Linked DNA regions of Homo sapiens: regions 1, 2, 3 and 4 are each linked to region 5. Evidence: promoter capture Hi-C in 16 types of primary human blood cells and fetal thymus (Javierre and others, 2016). All regions are on one chromosome and are shown on one strand. Each heading gives the region's core, a stretch centred on a gene start or on the middle of the fragment in contact. The rest is flanking DNA. Distances are from core to core; before and after follow the strand shown.

Region 1 (2,733 bases), core at 103-2,602, 430 kb after region 5:
AGAAGAGCAAATTTGTGTATATGGTGAGGGCAGTCCATGAAAGGATGCTCCTATCTTTTATTTTTCTTTTTAACTTTTATTTTGACATAATTTCAGACATACAGAAAACGTACAAGAATAGTACCAAAAAGTTCCCATATATTATGGTGTGCATGTGGGTAGAAACATTTTTCTGGACCACTTGAGAACAAGTTGTAGACCTGATGCTCCTTTGTCCCTAAGTACTTAAGTGTACATTTCTTAAAATTAAGGGAATTCTCTTACGTAACCCCAATAAAATCATCAAAATCAGGTTATTAAAATTAATAAAACACTATTATCTGATCTACAGATCTTTTCAATCTCACTTGTCTCAGTGATGTCCTTCACAGCAAAAAAGAATCCCAGATCCTGGTAGCACGCAGTTTTCATAAGTTTGTCTCCTTTGATCTGGAACAGTACCCAGTCTTTGTGTTTTATGACATTGACATTTTGATGAGCATGAGCCAGTTATTTTGCAAAATGTCCTCTGTTTTGGACCCCCTTGTCTTTAAAAACAACAAAACCTGCCTTAATGCTGCCAATCCCCTCTCACAATGGCCCTCTTTTTTGCCTTCCTTTTCATGACCAGGTTTCCTGAAGAATTAGGAATCACTGCCTATCTTTACTTGATTACTTCCCATTCATTCCTCAGCCTTTACAAACTGGCTTTTACTCCTGTTGCTGCACTGAAATTGCTCTTGTTAAGGGGCACCAATGACTTCCAGACTTTGCTAAATATAGTGATTATGATAGTCTTCCTATGCTCTCTTCTCTGCTCATTCTGTACATTCCTTCCTTCACAAATTCTGTGCACTCCAGTAAGTCCAAAATTTGTATCTTTAGTTCCAAGGTCTCCTAAACTTCAGACCTATCGCAGTCCCTGCTAAATATCTGAATCCGAGTGTCCACATACTCATCTGTTATTCCTTCTTTTATTCATTGTTCTTTTGAGCATTCAGCCCATAAAACATACCTTTTGAGCACCCACTATGTAGCAAGTATAATTACATGTTTCAGGTACTCAAATGTTACAAATAGAAATTGATTTTCTCTTCCTATTATCTCAAATCTGCTATTCTTCTGTAGTCATTGTCTTTGTGAATAGTATCACTCTTTATCTAATTATCTAGCCAGAACTAGACTCCTACCTTTCTCGCTTTTCCACTTACCAAGTCCTTTAGTTATATTTTCTAAATGTTTCTGATAACCATTTCTTCCTTCCCATGCCCACTGCCAGGTCCCCCCTTCCCACTCTGCTGAATCCTGTTCTCTCCATCACCACCGAAGGGCTCTTCCTAGCTAATCCATCTGATTGTGTCATCCACTTCTCATATTCTTCAGTAGCTCTCACCTCCTATAGGATCAAATCAAAATGTCTTAGCATGACATGCACCACCACCCGTGATCTGGCCCTACCAGCCTCTTGAGCTTTTGCCATTGTGGACAACATGGTCAATGTGAACTTCCTCCAATACACCATGCTCTGAAACTCAGCCATGGTTTTGCACGTGTTCCCATTCCCTGGGGTGCTCTCCTCACTGCTCTTTCTGGCAAACCCTTGCCCAACATACAAGTCTCATATTAAGAGTTAACTGTTTAATGGGGCCCTCCCTGACTACCCTGGACACATTTCCTTCTCCTCCTTTTGCACACGGCACATACTTCCATTATAGCACTTACCAGGTCATATTATTGTTTATTTTCATGTTTGTCTCGCTTTTGTTCTGCTTTGGAGCAAGACTATATTCATCTCTCCATCCCCACACCTAGCATAGTGTAGTGAGTGCTTAATCAATACTTTTGAATGAGTGAATGAATGACAACAGTGCCATTTACTTGGTTTGAAAACCCTGTTTTTATTGTGAATTCACTAAGAAATACTCTACTTAAACTAGCAGAAATTTGATAACCTTTGAGGCCTTATGGACTTACCAAGGTAGAACTTTTTGGGTAAAAGCTGGATCTCTATACTTTTTTGGATTGGGATATCTTTTGCTTATTTTGAGTTTGTTTCAATTACCTTAGCTTCAGAAAGTATTAAAATGCCAATGTGGGTCACATCCTTTTAAAGGGATATATATCTAGTCAAGGTTGTTTGGATTCCTCAGACAGGGTTCTTAACTGGACCTAAGAAGACTTAAAGGAAGAAATCTCATTAAAAATGAAAGCATAATAAAAGTTTGAATATATTATTAGATGTGCTGCTTAGGGTTTTTGATAGTTTGCTTATTTTTTGTTTTTGTTTTTTAGATTTGTTTGTGAGGGAACAGTAGAAGAAAAGATCTTACAGCTCCAAGAAAAAAAGAAAGATTTGGCCAAACAAGTTCTATCAGGGTCTGGAGAATCTGTCACCAAGCTCACCTTGGCTGACCTCAGAGTCCTTTTTGGCATCTAACCTCCTGTGGATAAGGGCTCAGAATAGCACCATTGCTGGTTTGTATTAGGATCTGGGAATAACAACCTAACCATGAGCCTTGAACTCTGTTCTTTGCATTTCAATTTCACCGTCAAGCCTTTCACCTTCCTCAAAATGAGGCATAATCTTATCCCCAGAATTGAGGAGGGGTTGTGTTAACCAATTAGTTAACCAATTATGTTAATAATTTATTTAATGAGTGGTATGGAAACCAATTGATTTTTTTAGATAAAAGAATATGTTTTAGAGTTGGATGATTTTGGAAAACAACTCTGGCAGAATTGTATATAAGCTTC
Region 2 (2,700 bases), core at 148-2,647, 370 kb after region 5:
GACAAGCCTCTGTCTCAGGAGTTGACCAACCAGGGCCTATGGGCCAAATGCAGCCCACCATCTGTTTGTTTTTTAAAATACAATATACTGGAATATGGTCACTCCCATTCGCTTACATACTGTCTGTGGCTGCTTTCACGATAAAAATGGCAAAGTTGTGTAGTTGCCACAGAGACCATAGGACCTACATTGCCTAAAATGTTTATTATTCTGGCCCTTTACAGAAAACATTTGCCAGCCCTGCTGTCCTTTAATGTTCTGTCTCTCTTAGCCATGTATTATGTCCCTGGGAAACTGATTTGACCTCTTATATCTGAATCTCTTCTATATCTGATTAATCTAATAAATAATCTTAGGTTTTCAGGATTGGCATCTAGTCCCAGCCATTCTGAAGTTTGACTCCGCTGTACCGGCCTCACACTATAGATGGGAAGTTTATCACCCTGCAACGTTTCACGCCATCATACTGAGTACCTACTCTGTGCAAGATAAGATGACACAGGGATGATTAAGGCATGGTTGCTGTTAATTATTTTTATTGTATTGAGATGTATAGAAAAAACCGATTTATGGCAGAAGATGAATGCAATGGTATAAAGTCATGTGCCATAATAATTTCTTACAATCGTACAGGATTTTTTTCATTATCTCAGAATTTTACAGCATCTCTATACAAAAGGAATTGTTATTCCTGTCCTACAGGTAAGGAATTATAGCTCAGAGAGGTTGGGATTTATCCAGGATCACCCAGCCATATGCAGAAGAGTAAAAGCTCAAACTTAGGTCTGCTGACAAGTCCTGGACTCTTTCCACAATAAACACTCTTTCCACAATAAACACAAAAAATATGCTCAAATCCATTGCTATGGGGGAAAATCTGGATATAATAATAGCCACTTTGAGTGGTTGTTATGGTGATCAAATCAGATACATCAATGGAGATAAGTTTTAAAACCACATCAAGTCATAAATGAATGTCAGCATTAACCCAAGTTTTTCTAGGACTTAACCTGTCCGTGTACATAAATAAAATGTAATCAATAGTAATAATCCAAATTCTACAGGCTTTCCCTCCCAGAATATTTACACAGGGTCTTGGCCATCTACAGTGTCCTTTAGCTATTTCTGGGGGATTTCCCAAAACTGGAAATTTTTTTTTAAAGAGATGAGGTCTCACTAGATTGCTCAAGCTGGCATTGAGCTCCTGAGCTCAAGTAATCCTCCTGCAAGAGCCTCCCAAGTAGCTGGGTCTACAAGTACACACCACCACATCTGGCCCGGATTCTGTGAATTCACATGAGCTCACAAGCAAGTCCATTCCCATGTGGTTCCCTGCAGCTCCGTTGGGCTCTGCGGGCTCCCACCGCAGCTGGCATGCCAGAGCACATGAGATGCCAAGCTGAGTCGTGTTCAGTGATAAGCAGTGAAAAGGGACTCTTTCTCTGTCTTTACATTACACTCTTCTGTAAGGATACAAATTCAAGATTGTTTGCACCCGTGTCTCTAAAGATTCTCTTGTGAAAACTGTTCCATTAGCATTTGCCCAGTATCTCCTTTCTCCAGAGTCCAGACACCAGCAAGTCTGCGGCCAGGCTGGGAAAGACTTCATGCTATTCTCTCCATTTCCCATTGCCTGTTCCCAGCAGCCTCTGCACTAACCTCCTCATCACAGGTCCTCTTTTCCTCCAGCAGGAAGGTTATGCAATTGTGCTGTTGGGGAGCTCTACCACTTGGCAGACAGAGCCTGAGAAGTCTGCATTCCCTGTAGGCTCAGGTGGGAATTCTGTCAAACTGGCTATTAATTTTTACTCCTAATAAAGTGCTACAGGCATTTAGAAATCAGAGACAACTTCATAAAGAAGATGTAAGTTGAACTGGGCTTTAAAAATAAGAAAATATTTTGACAGGAAAAGGGTTAAGCAGAGGTCTGGACAGAGGAAGCCCCATGAAAAGTGCAGTGCTTACAATAGCTTTGGGTTAAGTGTCAGATCTATGAAGGGGAGCAATGGGAGATAAATCTGGAAAAGTAGTTAGAGCAAAATTCTGGGGTTGGGGAAGGACAGAAGAACAGATCTTGAACATGGATAATATCTTGGACTTCATGTGGTGGACAATAGTGAGCCAGTGAATGTAATGTAGTAGGGAAGGAGAATTGAAAAGCAACAGCATAGATGATAGGTGGGGTTGGAGTGAGGATGGCAGTGGTACAAAGGTGAGGCAGGGAAGCCAGCTGGAAAACCATCTTCACTCTCTTAATTTGTGTAATGGCTATCACACCAATTTTGTGAGCATTTTGAGTATAGAAAAAAATTATCAGAAAGTTTCAAGTATCAAGCTCATAGAGGTAGCTCCTGTATATTAAACACAATGACACATGATGAGACTCTTCTTGTGTCTAATAAATGCTCGTTAACCTAGTTTTCTACTGATAAGTTTAGAGATAAGAGACAGTTCCATCCATTCATTATATTAACTGGCTTTCCATTTTTTAAAAAATTTATTCACCTTTACATTTAATTTACTTGTTAGAAATTTGGAGTTTCTACCATATTGTCTCTTAATCCAAGGCTCCTTCTGAACCAGCTCTGACTGCCAAATAGAGATGTTTTGAGTTGAAGCATAATTATCACATTAAGCCATTTACCGAGACGAGAGACTATATTGGATGAGGACAGTGATTAAGAAGTTTCTATGGTATAA
Region 3 (2,700 bases), core at 140-2,639, 420 kb after region 5:
AAAAGGAGAAAAGCACAGCTTTGACGTGGCTCTCCAAAGATGGTAGACAGAAGTGCCTTAATAGCCTGCCATTCCCTACGTCATTTGAGCCACCCAAGAGGGGAACGTCTTCAGCTAAAAAAGGACACCTTTGGTCATATTTAATTACTCTACTGGAAAACCAGTATTAGATTACTCACCTATCATATCATTTCTGATGCTGAGTATGCTAATTATAAGTGATCATTTTTTCCGTATAAATTTGCCTATAAACTAGGCAGAATTTTATGGAGAAAGCTGAGGCTCTAGAACACTTAATTTAAGCATAATAATAATTCTTATTTTTTGAGACAGGGTCTCGCTCTGTTGCTCAGGCTGGAGTGCAGTGCATGAACACAGCTTACTGCAGCCTAAACCTCCTTGGCTCAAGCGATCCTCCCACCTCAGCCTCCCAAGTAGCTGGGACCACAAGTTTGCACCACCACACCCAGCTAATTTTTTAATTTTTTTGTAGAGATAGGATCTCACCATGTTGCCTGGCTGGTCTCAAACAACTGGGCTCAAGCAATCATCCTGCCTCAGCCTTCCAAAGTGCTGGGATTATAGGTGTGACCCACCATGCCTGGCCAATAATTATTATTTTTGGAAATATTGGGGAAATAACTACAGGGTAGATTCAAATTAATTTTTTTAAAGGAAGATCTGTCACAAATTCACATTTTAGTCACTATAGTGGAAGCTATTTTCCATGTTTCTGAAATTCTAGAAGTTCCTAGATTATAGACACTTTCTATCTTAACATATGTTTTTAAAATGTAGTAACTTTAGCCAGGCACAGTGGTATGCACCTGTAGTCCCAATTGAGGGAGGAGAGGCAGGAGAATCACTTGAGCCTGGGAGCTTGAGGCCAACTGGGCAAGAAAGCAAGACACTGTCTCTTAAAAAAAATTAAATAAAAAGTAATAACTTTATAAGTACTTTAAAGATTGAATATGTTATGTATAGACAACACTACATGTAAGTTGCCATGTATTCAAGTACAGCTCTCAGTTGCTTAGATAGATTAAAAATCTGTGGGCCGGGCATGGTGGCTCACGCCTGTAATCCCAGCACTTTGGGAGGCTGAGGTGGGCGGATAACAAGGTCAGGAGACCGAGACCATCCTGACTAATACGGTGAAACCCCGTCTCTACTAAAAATACAAAAAATTAGCCAAGCATGGTGGCAGGCGCCTGTAGTCCCAGCTACTCAGGAGGCTGAGGCAGGAGAATGGCATGAACCTGGGAGGCAGAGCTTGCAGTGAGCCGAGATCGTGCCACTGCACTCCAGCCTGGGTGACAGAGCGAGACTCCGTCTCAAAAAAAAAAAAAAAAAAAAAATCTGTGGCATCTGCTCTCAGGGCCTCTAATGAGCACTGTTGCAGCTGGGTCCTATATCCCTTTGTGTGTACTAGCAGTATGTGTAAGTAGCACAGGCACACACACGCAGAGATGAGGGGCCATGGTATAAACAAACCATCACTAATTGGTTCCAAACCAATGTTTGCTTATTTTTTAAAAAAGGTTTCTGTACTTAATTTTAAGGTAGAAGTACATTAAGTTATGCTTTTCAGAAAGTATAACAATACTCCATACGCCTCTATAATGAATCAACTCAAGAGGAGTTAGGAAATGATCCAGCTTTCACTTCCAGCCACTCTGTGAAAGCACATTGCTTTTTCACACTGAGGTCATGTGCCACCCACTTTCCTCCCCCTGTTTAGCCTCTCTTTCTGCCTGTACTTTTAGTGGAGAAAATAAGTAATCAAGTGTTTCAGTTTAAAAGACCATTTCTTCCATTTCCTACTTCACTATAGGCTCTGTATAGAAATAAGAGCAATGGTTAAACATATTAATTGAAGGAGTAAAGTCAGTCAAGAGGAAGAGGTAATGCCTTTAAGTTAAAGGCCGGTCAAACACGATGACTCACACCTGTAATTCCACTGTGGGAGGCTAAGGCAGGAGGATCACTTGAGCCTAGGAGTTTGAGACAGCCTGGGTAACACAGCAAGACCGTGTCTCCATATATTAAAAAAGAAAAGTTAAAAGCCATTTGGTGAATGTAACTAGGCACTGATTTTTTTCCCTTCTCAAGACTCTTGTGACTTTACTTCCCATGGAACACTAATCATCTGTCCTGCCTCCCTGATCCATCATTGGAAAAATGAGGTGGAGAAACGGGTGAACAGCAACAAACTAAGAGTCTATCTCTACCATGGGCCAAACCGGGATTCACGTGCCAGAGTGTAAGTGCAGGAATACGCAGTTGTGGGGGCGTTCAGCACCTCTGCCCAAGGGCCCACGGGCCTTTGCTCCCATCCCTGAGATTTCACTTAATCAGGACGCGTATTTGTGAAAGCCAAAGACAGATCTTTAGTCTCGTCACCATACAGCCTTTGCGTTGTATCCTGAGGTCTACTGGTGATCTTTTGCTGTGTCCTTGTCATTGTCCTCAATGAAAGCTGCCCTGTGAGGAGGCCTGAGATGCCGGAGCTGCCATTCAGGTGACAGCAGCATTCCCCTAGTCAAGGAGATGTGTCGCAAGGCCCTCATGGCTGCTGGAGTTCTGATTCCAGGTGTACATAGTGTGAATGGAACCAGCCCAGTTCTACAGAGCATCTTGATAGAATGCTAATGATTAGTTGCTATAGGTTGATTATATTTTTATGACTTTTTAATATAT
Region 4 (2,700 bases), core at 57-2,556, 390 kb after region 5:
TTATACAAATGATTACTATGTCTTTTTATGTCTTTGTATTAATAACAATTAATGTCATTTTAACTTAGGTTTAAGTTCCATACAAACGTTAAAGGAAAAAGACTTTCAAGACCATTTAAAAAGAGGAAGATGATGGCTAAAAAGCACACGAAAAAGAGTGCCACATCAATAGAAAAATCAAAATTCAAACAAAAGTCAGATACCACTTCATACCTACTAAAAAAGGCACGCAATAACAAGCATTGTTGAGGACATGAAGAACTGGGAACCCTCATACGTTGCTGGTGGAAATATAAAATGGTATAGCCACTTTGGAAAGTGGTTTGGCAATTTCTTAAAAAGTTAAACAAACTAACCATATGAACTAGCAATTCCACTCACAGGTTTATCTGCCCAAGAGAAATGAGAACAAATGTTCATATAAAGACTTTAACGTTAGGCCGGGTGCGGTGGCTCATGCCTGTAATCCCAGTACTTAGGGAGGCTGAGGCAGATAGATTACCTGAGGTCAGGAGTTTGAGACCAGCTTGGCCAACATGGTGAAACCCTGTCCCTACTAAAAATATAAAAATTAGCTTACGTGGTGGCTCGAGCCTATAATCCCAGCTACTCGGGAGGCTGAGGCAGGAGAATTGCTTGAACCTGGGAGCTGGAGGTTGCAGTGAGCCAAGATCATGCCACTGCACTCCAGCTTGGGTGACAGAGCAAGACTCCATCTCAAAAACAACAACAACAAAAAACAAAAAAACAAAAACAAAAACAATAAAACAGACTTTAACATTAATGTTCATAGCAATATTATTCCTAATAATTCCAAAGGGAAAATGATCCAAATGTCCACCAACTGGTGAATGAACACAATGGAATATTACTCAGCAATAAAAAGGAGTGAAATACTGATACATGTGCAACATGGGTAAACCTCACAAGCATTATGTAAGTGAAAGAAGACAGAGGCAAGAGACTACATATTACATGACTCCATTATATGAAATGTCCAGAAAAGGCAAACTTATAAAGACAGAAAGCATATCAGAGGTTGCCTTGGGACTAGCTGGGGGTGGCAGTTGGGATTGACTGCACACAGCTTTGAGGAAAGTTTTTGAGTGATAGAAATGTTTTAAAACTGGATTCTGGTGGTGATGGCACAACTTTATAAATTTACTTAAACAATGAATTGTGGGCCAGGTGTGATGGCTCATGCCTGTAATCCCAGCACTTTGGGAGGCCGAGGCGGGTGGATCACCTGAGTTCAGGAGTTCGAGACCAGCCTGGCCAACAGGGTGAAACCCCATCTCTACTAAAAATACAAAAATTGGCCAGGCGTGGTGGCGGGCACCTGTAATCCCAGCTACTCGGGAGGCTGAGGCAGGAGAGTCACTTGAACCCAGGAGGCAGAGGTTACAGTGAGCCAAGATCATGCCACTGTACTCCAGCCTGGCAACAGAGTGAGACTCTGTCTCAAAAAAAAAAAAAAAAGAATTGTGGCCGGGCGCGATGGCTCAAGCCTGTAATCCCAGCACTTTGGGGGGTCGAGGCGAGTGGATCACCTGAGTTCAGGAGTTCAAGACCAGCCTGGACAACATGGTGAAACCCCATCTCTACTAAAAATACAAAAATTAGCTGAGCGTGGTGGCACAAGCCTATAATCCCAGCTACTCAGGAGGCTGAGGCAGGAGAATCACTTGAACCCAGGAGGCGGAGGTTGCAGTGAGCCAAGATCCTACCATTGCACTCCACTCCAGCCTGGGTAACAGACAAGACTCCAACTGAAAAAAATACCTGTACATTTACCAAAAAAAAAAAAAAAAAAAAAGAAGAAGATAAAGAGCCTGCATTGAACCACTTTTGGAATAATATTTTAAGAACAGTGAAATTTGGAATCTAGTACTGAAAAAATATTGGTATAACAAAATAATTTGTAAAGTCTCTTGGCTTTACAAATTATAACCACATTTGTTCTCACTATAGTATCATCCTGATCGAGCCTATGTCAAAGGACAAGTTGAAAACAGTCATATGTTTGAAAGGCACAAAATGAAATGAAATGAAATTGAATTACCATTATATATCTTCAAACAAAAAGAATGAAACAGAGGAGGGTGGGCCTCAGTTTGGTTTTTATGTTACTAGGCTGCTACCTAGTGGTCATTTATAAAATGGCAGGACTTGGGTTTTTGGTTTTTGTCTTGGATTTGTTGAGCCATGTCTCTACACCACAGCAAATACCTAAACACTTACCGATGTGTGGGTTAAATATCTGAATGCATTGCTGAATAATTTATGCTTTATAAAAATACTATAGGCTGGGCGCAGTGGCTCAGGCCTGTAATCCCAGCACTTTGGGAGGCCGAGGCAGGTGGATCACCTGAGGTCTCAGGAGTTCGAGACCAGCCTGGCCAACATGGCGAAACCCCATCTCTACTAAAAATACACAAAATTGCTGGGCGTGGTGGTGGGTGCCTGTAATCCCAGCTACTTGGGAGGCTGAGGCAGGAGAATTGCTTAAACCTGGGAAGTGGAGGTTGCAGTGAGCCGAGATCACGCCACTGCACTCCAGCCTGGGCGACAGAGCGAGACTCCGTCTCAAAAAAAAAAAGAAGAAGAAGAAGAAGAAAAAATACTATAGTGGCAAGAACTGGATTGAAAGTTCTGAAAAATGGCCTTTAGTCCCTGATTGGCTGCTGTCAGCTTTGTGAC
Region 5 (2,700 bases), core at 1-2,500:
GAGGGAGTTGGGGGGAAGGGGAGGAGTGGAGGCAAGTGTGAAAACTCCCCTATGCTACAGGAAGGGTCCACAACAATTCGGAAGTCGCTCCCGGCTCCTGCCACATCGTGTGCCTTGCAGTTTCCACTGAAATTGCAGACTGTAGTGGATTAATCCTCCAGAAGCACGGAAAAAAGGGTCTGAGAAAATCCTTTCATCCACTGATTATACAGAAATGTCCTTGGCTTCTCAGTGAAGGTGTCTGTGATCTCCCTCATTCGGATTCCCCAGAGAGAACAGGGCAGGTTTCGTCAAAACCTTTGACGGCCAAATCACCCTGCCTGGCATCAACCGTTTGGGTTTCTTCACCAAAAAGTCCGTTTCCATCCATGGTGGTAGGTCACGGAGGCGCCACCTGCCCCACGCCTGCCTAGGGCACACGAAGCAAGTTGGCGTTCGGCAGCCCTGAAGCGGTACCCCAGCGCGAGCAGATTTCTAAAACAAACACAACAGAGATTTTTATCAAAGGCAAAGCTGCAAAACCCACTGGGGCTGAGCGCTGAGCTGGTCCGGACACCTGGGTCCGGTTCCTGGACCAGGACAGTCAACCTCTGCATTCTGACCTTGGGCAAGTCTCTGTCTTTCCCTCCGCCTCAGTTTCCCTGCCCAGAGCAGGGCAACAGTGGGAAGCCCGATTGTTCCTGAAATACTTCCACCAAATGCTTCACTCCTGGGAATTCCCGTCACCTCCTACCGAGCCCGGGCGCCGCAGGTAGCCCCACCCTCCGCCAGGGCAAATCGGGAAGGGGCTCCGCGGTGGGGCCGCGACTCCCGGCCCCCGCCCCAACCGTGGGAGCTCTGCGCGCGACGCGTCCCAGGTGGCCCCGCTATTGTTTTACCTTGCAGGGTGTTTATATCTCGCTGATTGGAAAGAAAAGAAACCGGGGAAGAAGGGAGTCCGGAGCTCCGCTTTCAGCTGCCGGAGCGCGCTCGCAGCGCGCCCGCCCAGCCAGGGGAGGGGTCTCGGGCCCGACCCGGAGCTCAGCCGGCGCGGGCCCGCTCCCCACTCCCCGCTCCCCGCTCCCCGCTCCACGCCTCCCCGCCTCCCTCCCCGGGGCCCCCTCCGGGCGCCGCCCGCGCCCCCGCCGAGCCTGACCTCGCCCCTGGCCCTCTCCCTCCGCGCGCGTCGGACCGTCCTTCAGTCCATCCAGGCGCACGCCTCAGGGGACGCGCCGCTTCCTCTTCTCCCGCAACGGCACCAGCAGCCGCGCTGCGGCCCCTCCCGAGTCCCCGCCCCTCCAGCTCCAGCCCGGCCCGCCGCACTCGGCGAGGCGAGCGCGGGGCCAGGGCGGCGGCCTCGAAGAGAGGCCCGGCCCCGCCCCCGGCCCCGCCCCTGGAGACGCGAGTCCCGGCCCCGGGCCTGGCGGGGGCATGAGGGTGGCCCGGGGCACCGGAGGACCTGGGCAGGGCTGGCGTGTGGGCCGAGCAGCCCGGCAAGTTAATCAGGGCTTCACACCCAGACTCCGGGGCCGCCGGCGAGATGTACAGGCCCTTCCCAAAGCCCAGCTGGCCACCCATAACCTGGGAAGCCGGCGGCACAGAAGCTCGTCCTTCCTCCTGGAAACAAAAACAAAGCCCTTTGGAGACTTGAATCTGTTCACGAAGTGGAACCCCATATTGCACTTCACTCTTGGATAGAATTTGGACTCTGGAAACAGCCTGGGTTCTAACGCCGGTTCCTCCACTTCCTCGCTGTGGCCCTTGGCAAGTTACTTAACCTCTCTGTGCCTCAATTTCCCCATCTGCTATGTGGAGGAAATAACCCTTACTTAAGAGGGTTATGGGAGAAATCTGTGACATACTTGTAAAGCATTTAGAATGGTGCCTGATACATCACAAGTGGTCAGTAAATATAAGCTATTATTATTTTATGACCAACCGCCCTGTAAAGCAAGTGCTTTTTCGTTTTCTCACTACTTACCCAACACACACAACTTGCTGGGTAGACACCGTCACGAGGCGACCAAAGCAGAATAGACCGCCCTGCCCTCATGCAACTTGCAGTCTAGTGGGGACACAGACCATAAAATAGACATGACAAGAAAAGTACAGTGTTGAGGAAGCAAATGCAGAGACCCCAACCCTGTGTTATTGGGGGAGGGGCAAGGAGGAGGGAGCTTTGGTCGGGGTAGGTCCCAGGCTTCTCAGAGGAAAGGAAAACTCGGTTGAATGCCAAAGAACAGAAGGCAGCAGCAGAGGAAGAGACAGAGGGGAGGTAAGGAATCGCAGACTGAAGAAACAGCACCTCTGCAGGCCCAGAAAGGAGCCCAGTTAGAGGACCAGGACAGTCTGCTGGGCCCAAACTTGACTGTAGGAGAGAAGTGACAAGAAATGAGCTGAGAAGAAATCGAGTGCCAGAACCTAGAGGGCATTGTATGGTGTGTTAAGGGGTTGGGACCATTGGGAAGCCACTGAAGGTGTTGAGTAAGGGACTATGGTTATCAGATATACGTTTTATTTTTCATTTTATTTTAAGAGACAGGTTCTCACTCTGTGACCCAGGCTGGAATGCAGTGGTGTAATCTTGTCTCACTGCAACCTCCACCTCCCGGGTTCAAGTGATTCTCCTGCCTCAGCCTCCTGAGTCACTGGGACTACAGGCGTGCACCACCACACCCGGATAATTTTTGTACTTTTAGTAGAGACAGTGTTTCACCATGT

Evidence for each region. Contacts are between HindIII fragments. The CHiCAGO score rates a contact against its expected background, and 5 or more counts as called.
Region 1: a contact is called between a fragment that was not itself captured here and the fragment with the promoter of IGSF3 in region 5, in 2 of 17 cell types (fetal thymus and naive CD4 T cells). The highest score is 5.9, in fetal thymus.
Region 2: a fragment that was not itself captured here is called in contact with the fragment with the promoter of IGSF3 in region 5 in 1 of 17 cell types (M2 macrophages); the score reaches 5.4 in M2 macrophages.
Region 3: a fragment that was not itself captured here is called in contact with the fragment with the promoter of IGSF3 in region 5 in 2 of 17 cell types (activated CD4 T cells and total CD8 T cells); the score reaches 6.7 in activated CD4 T cells.
Region 4: a fragment that was not itself captured here is called in contact with the fragment with the promoter of IGSF3 in region 5 in 9 of 17 cell types (megakaryocytes, M2 macrophages, fetal thymus and 6 more); the score reaches 11.9 in megakaryocytes.

Annotation. Positions count from the first base shown.
Region 1 is chr1:117,099,109-117,101,841 of GRCh38, forward strand. TTF2 (transcription termination factor 2) reads left to right here. Exons shown (of 23, transcript NM_003594.4): 23 at 2,272-2,733. The coding sequence ends at 2,416. Among named protein-coding and RNA genes, the nearest start is that of MIR942, 5.8 kb to the left of the region's middle. The HindIII fragment of the contact is 2,750 bases long and covers 1-2,727 here.
Region 2 is chr1:117,037,116-117,039,815 of GRCh38, forward strand. All of the region lies in intron 2 of CD101-AS1 (CD101 antisense RNA 1), which reads right to left. Among named protein-coding and RNA genes, the nearest start is that of CD101-AS1, 21 kb to the right of the region's middle. The HindIII fragment of the contact is 4,956 bases long and covers 1-2,700 here.
Region 3 is chr1:117,081,906-117,084,605 of GRCh38, forward strand. It overlaps TTF2 (transcription termination factor 2), which reads left to right. Exons shown (of 23, transcript NM_003594.4): 10 at 1-42; 11 at 2,113-2,263. Among named protein-coding and RNA genes, the nearest start is that of MIR942, 11 kb to the right of the region's middle. The HindIII fragment of the contact is 4,974 bases long and covers 1-2,700 here.
Region 4 is chr1:117,053,389-117,056,088 of GRCh38, forward strand. The region is part of intron 1 of CD101-AS1 (CD101 antisense RNA 1); the gene reads right to left. Among named protein-coding and RNA genes, the nearest start is that of CD101-AS1, 4.8 kb to the right of the region's middle. The HindIII fragment of the contact is 6,290 bases long and covers 1-2,700 here.
Region 5 is chr1:116,666,483-116,669,182 of GRCh38, forward strand. IGSF3 (immunoglobulin superfamily member 3) reads right to left here and starts at 1,251. Exons shown (of 11, transcript NM_001007237.3): 1 at 1,136-1,251; 2 at 1-474. RefSeq lists a silencer at 1,096-1,485. The HindIII fragment of the contact is 3,697 bases long and covers 1-2,700 here.